Linked DNA regions of Homo sapiens: region 1 is linked to region 2. Evidence: promoter capture Hi-C in human tissues and cell types (Jung and others, 2019). All regions are on one chromosome and are shown on one strand. Each heading gives the region's core, a stretch centred on a gene start or on the middle of the fragment in contact. The rest is flanking DNA. Distances are from core to core; before and after follow the strand shown. Region 1 overlaps RUNDC3A (RUN domain containing 3A). Region 2 holds the start of NAGS (N-acetylglutamate synthase).

Evidence for each region. The method cuts DNA at HindIII sites, captures the fragments that hold promoters and counts their contacts. A contact is called where the count stands out against the background at its distance.
Region 1: a contact is called between a fragment that was not itself captured here and the fragment with the promoter of NAGS in region 2, in 1 of the 25 tissues and cell types used here (spleen).

What each region holds. Positions count from the first base shown.
Region 1 is chr17:44,312,891-44,315,590 of GRCh38, forward strand. It overlaps RUNDC3A (RUN domain containing 3A), which reads left to right. Exons shown (of 11, transcript NM_001144825.2): 3 at 214-362; 4 at 528-613; 5 at 1,845-1,934; 6 at 2,039-2,119; 7 at 2,265-2,430; 8 at 2,562-2,700. Among named protein-coding and RNA genes, the nearest start is that of RUNDC3A, 5.6 kb to the left of the region's middle. The HindIII fragment of the contact is 4,634 bases long and covers 1-2,700 here.
Region 2 is chr17:44,003,273-44,005,972 of GRCh38, forward strand. NAGS (N-acetylglutamate synthase) reads left to right here and starts at 1,350. Exons shown (of 7, transcript NM_153006.3): 1 at 1,350-1,817; 2 at 2,365-2,639. The coding sequence starts at 1,392. It also overlaps a transcript of PYY not described here. RefSeq lists an enhancer at 2,273-2,700. The HindIII fragment of the contact is 21,260 bases long and covers 1-2,700 here.

The sequences.
Region 1 (2,700 bases), core at 10-2,509, 310 kb after region 2:
CTTGTGTACAGATCTGGGAAGAGGGAGAGGCCTTTGGCCTACAATCCCCATCATGGGCAAGCGATATGCTGGGGTGCCCACTGCACACGTGCATGTGTGTGCACAGATCTTTGTGGGAGGAGGCTGCTTATGCTTATGCATGTGAGTGCCTCACTACATGGACCCTCTCCAAACTCCCTGGTCTTGCTGAGCCCCCTCCCTGCCCTGGCTCAGCCTGTGCCCCAGCAGGTCCAGTGAGCTGGTTCAGCTCAGACGGGCAGCGGGGCTTTTGGGACTATATCCGGCTGGCCTGCAGCAAAGTGCCCAACAACTGTGTGAGCAGCATCGAGAACATGGAGAACATCAGCACAGCCCGGGCCAAGGTGAGGGGCCTGAAGCAAGCAACTGCTCTCTGCTCTGGACACAGGGGGCCTGCCTGTTTCTTGGTTTTTGCCCCCTGTGCACAGCCCAGGGGAGAAGGGCCCACACCTGATGCTGGACACATGAGTCCCTCTGGGGCAGCAAGTAAAGGTGAACATGATTTCCAGGGCCGGGCATGGATCCGGGTGGCACTGATGGAGAAGCGCATGTCAGAATACATCACCACGGCTCTGCGTGACACCCGGACCACCAGGTCAGACTTCCCAGGCAACTCAGACCACAGGTCTCAGAGTGCACCTGCATTGCCCAAACACAGCTGATCCTTAAGTTCCTGCAGCATCCTTCAGTTCCTGGACTACAAGTCCCAGCACCAGCACACATGGCTGATTTCCCTCTTCCAGCCTGGCCTGCAGTCCCAGGACGAACTCTTTTTTTTTTTTTTTTTTTTGAGAAGGAGTTTCGCTCTTGTTGCCCAGGCTGGAGTGCGATGGCGCGATCTCGGCTCACTGCAACCTCCGCCTCCTGGGTTCAAGCGATTCTCCTGCCTCAGCCTCCTGAGTAGCTGGGATTACAGGCATACGCCACCATGCCCAGCTAATTTTGTATTTTTAGTTTCTCCATGTTGGTCAGGCTGGTCTCAAACTCCCAACCTCAGGTGATCCTCCCGCCTTGGCCTCCCAAAGTGCTGGGATTACAGGCATGAGCCACCGCTCCTGGCCCCAGGACAAACTTTTACCACCACCACCACCACCACTTGCAAGTCAAATCTAATGCCCATTATTTGCCATCAATGCCCAGCACGCTCCACCCTTGCACACCTCTGGATGAGCCTCAGCCATGCACCATCTCAAGTGTTGGCTTGCTCCATGATCTACAACACAGCCCTTCTGTCTCTCCAAACAACGAAAGCAGTTCTGTACTTGCTATTCACGGACACAGAGTCCTTATATGGGGAGTTCAATCCCTGCACTGTGGGTTCACAGGGAGGTTGGGTGCCTGAGGCAAGGGGTTACAAGGAGGAGTGTGCCTGTGTGGGCAGGTGCATCTGAAGCTGTCTGGGTGTGGCGGGGGGCATATACCTCCCCATCCCAATTGGCCATACCCAGCCTGATGTTTTTACTGAATTCCATTCCTCAGTCTACACGTTTCAAGTTAACACGTTTTTTGCGCACCTACTGTATACCAAGCACTAATGATTAAGACTTGCTTCCTGATATGAAGGATCTGGGTAACCCAGTACTTGATGAGGAAGGGGTAGCTCAGAGGGAGGAGTCGGCTCAGGGAACACCCATTCTAGGTGATGGGGCCACAGGTGCGAGCCCCAGGCTGAAGGGGGAGAGAGGCTCCAGGCCTGCGTGCAGATCAGGAAGGAGAATTGGCCTTCCTTCAGGATGGGGTGGCAGTAAGCCAACAATAGCAGCTCTGGGGGGGGGGGGGGCGCTCCAGGGGCCTGCTGCATCCTCTGGCCCTCTGCCTCCCCACAGACGGTTCTATGACTCTGGAGCCATCATGCTGCGGGATGAAGCCACCATCCTCACCGGAATGCTGATCGGACTGAGCGCCATCGACTTCAGGTGGGGTCTGCCTGACGGCAGTGGTGGAGGGGGCTGTTTCCCCCATAAATGTCCTACCCCAACCCCTCACACCCACCTCCAACCCTGTGGCTCCTCTGCCTCAGCTTCTGTCTAAAGGGGGAAGTCCTGGACGGGAAGACCCCCGTGGTCATCGATTACACGCCCTACCTAAAGTTCACGCAGAGGTGAGCGGCTCCATGACTGCGGCGGGGCGGGGGACGGGGCCTCGGGACATCCTGGGGACGTCCTGGTCCCACCGCCCTCAGCGGCCAGCGCAGACGCGCGGGGGGAGGGGCGGGACCGGCCGTGCCCACTGCTCCCTCTCCCAAGCTACGACTACCTGACGGACGAGGAGGAGCGGCACAGCGCCGAGAGCAGCACGAGCGAGGACAACTCGCCCGAGCACCCGTACCTCCCGCTCGTCACCGATGAGGACAGCTGGTACAGCAAGTGGCACAAGATGGAGCAGAAGTTCCGCATCGTCTACGCGCAGAAGGTGCGCGACGCCGGCGGGCCCGGGGGGCGGGCGGGCCGGGCGGGGGATCCGGGCATCCCGGGGCGGGGCGGGGATGGGGGCCGCGGCCGGGACGTCCTCCCAGCCGCCCGGGCTGAGCCGGCGCCCCGCAGGGCTACCTGGAGGAGCTGGTGCGTCTGCGCGAGTCGCAGCTGAAGGACCTGGAGGCGGAGAACCGGCGGCTTCAGCTGCAGCTGGAGGAGGCGGCGGCGCAGAACCAGCGCGAGAAACGGGAGCTGGAAGGCGTGATCC
Region 2 (2,700 bases), core at 100-2,599:
CCCACCCGCCTCCTCACTTGATTCTTAAGGCTTATGGCAAGTGATACTGGCCTAGTTACAGACCTAACATGGATAAACTTTAAGTTTAAAAAGGTTAAAGAGGGCCGGGCGTGGTGGCTCACGCCTGTAATCCCAGCACTTTGGGAGGCTGAGGCAGGTGGATCACGAGGTCAGGAGTTTGAGACAATCCTGGCCAACATGGTGAAACCCTGTCTCTACTAAAAATACAAAGATTAGCCGGGTGTGATGGTGTCTGCCTGTAATCCCTGCTACTCAGGAGGCTGAGGCAGGAGAATCGCTTGAACCCAGAAGGCGGGGATTACAGTGAGCCGAGATCGCAACACTGCACTCCAGCCTGGGCAATAGGGTGGGACTCCATCTCAAACAAACAAACAAACAAAAAAAAAAAAAAAAAAAAGGGTTACAGAGGTCGAGTGAAGTAGCTCACACCTGTAATCCCAGCACCTTGGGAGGCAGAAGTGGGAGGACTGCTTGAGCTCAGGAGTTCACGAACAGTCTGGGCAACATGGTGAACACCCGTCTTCAAAAAAAATAATTTTTTTTTAAATCAGCTGGGCATGGTGGTGTGCATTTGTGGTCCCAGCTACTAGGGAGACTGAGGCAGGAGGATCATTTGAACCTGGGAGGTGGAGGCTGCAGTGAGCTATGATTGCACCACTGTACTGCAGCCTGGGCAACAACAGAGTGAGACCCTATCTCAAAAACCAAAATAAAAAACTCTATTTTATTTTATTTTTACCAGATGTGATATTCGATAAAGAAAAGCATTAACACTAAAGTATTATAAGTTTTGAGGGGTGTTTTGAGGATATCACAGAATTCCTCAAGCTGGTACCCAGTGACTGGAGTTTGGCAAACCCTGGTAACCTCATGGTCATTCATTAGGATCTTTTTTGAGCTCAGGCAACAGGACAGACAAGGCCAGCACCACCCGCCCCCGCCCTCCCACTGCCCCCCTTCTTCTACTCTTTCCAGCGCCCTCCTTCCAGCCCCCTGCCCAGCCCTGTGCTCAAAGCCACCTACAGTCCCTTCTTCTCTGGTCAGAATGCCAATCATCCAAGGCCCTGCAGACTCCCAAAGCCGCCCCTGGAACCTACCTTGGCAGCAGATTAAAGACAACCCGCCACATTTAGTCTCGGCCCCATGACCGATAGTGGGTTCAGTTCCTCCAGGGGCGGGGGAGCCTAGTGGCCCCGCCCCCTGACTCATGGCCTGACCCTCCTCAAACGCACCCAGAGGAGACTCCTGGTCCCCTGTCCGGACCCCGCCCCGACCAGGTCCAGCCCCGCCCAACGGCAAGTTAAGAGCCCCCCAGTGCCAGACGCTCCAGACAGACTGCCACTCTTGGGGGGCAAGAGTTGGTTGTCGTCATGGCGACGGCGCTGATGGCTGTGGTTCTGCGGGCAGCTGCTGTAGCCCCGAGGCTGAGAGGCCGGGGAGGCACTGGGGGCGCCCGAAGGCTGAGCTGTGGCGCGCGGCGGCGGGCGGCGAGGGGCACCAGCCCGGGGCGCCGGCTCAGCACCGCCTGGTCGCAGCCCCAGCCCCCGCCCGAGGAGTACGCGGGCGCGGACGACGTCTCCCAGTCGCCCGTCGCCGAGGAGCCGTCGTGGGTGCCGAGTCCCAGGCCCCCGGTGCCCCACGAGTCCCCAGAGCCTCCTTCGGGCCGCTCGCTGGTGCAGCGGGACATCCAGGCCTTCCTGAACCAGTGCGGGGCCAGCCCTGGGGAGGCGCGCCACTGGCTCACGCAGTTCCAGACCTGCCATCACTCCGCGGACAAGCCCTTCGCCGTCATCGAGGTGAGCGGAGCCCGGCGTGGGCCGTGACGCAGCGAGGGGATGGGGTTGTGCGGCCACCTGTCCTCAGGCATGGCAGGATACGCTGCGGGCTCTGCGCAGCGGAAGCGGGAAGGAGCCCGGCAGGGCCCAGACCAGCGCCGCCGGGAATGGGAGAGGCCGTAAGCTCCTCCGGAAGCCTCCCGCCCAGCCCGAGTGAGGATCCTGGGGGACCCCACCCGCCAGGTGTGATGCTCTGAAGAAGGCCCCCAACATGGGCGCAGTTAGGGGTTCAGAAGGACCTGGACAGGAGCCGCTTGCACTGCCCCTCCCCCAAAGATGTCCCGGAGTCCAAGGTCGGAGGGAGGAGGGCGGGAGGTACCCCAGCGTGAGACAAGGGAGTGGCAAGACCCAACGGGGCAAAGGGCGGAGCAGGTGGGCACTGGTGGCCAGAACTGGGTCCTGACAGCTTCTGGAAGGGTAGGGTCACCGAGACGGCCCTGCAGGCCAGGCTGTGGGAGCCAGCGGCTCAGGTCCGTGTCACGCTCCTTGAAAGCCCACTCCTCCGCAGGTGGACGAGGAGGTGCTCAAGTGCCAGCAGGGCGTATCCAGTCTGGCCTTTGCCCTGGCCTTCTTGCAGCGCATGGACATGAAGCCGCTGGTGGTCCTGGGGCTGCCGGCCCCTACGGCTCCCTCGGGCTGTCTTTCCTTCTGGGAGGCCAAGGCGCAGCTGGCCAAGAGCTGCAAGGTGCTGGTAGACGCGCTTCGACACAACGCCGCCGCTGCTGTGCCATTTTTTGGCGGCGGGTCTGTGCTACGCGCTGCCGAGCCGGCTCCCCATGCCAGGTGAGTGCCCGCCCTGCCCGCCCAGGCGTCCTCAGAGCGTGCTACTCTGCCCGCCCTGCCC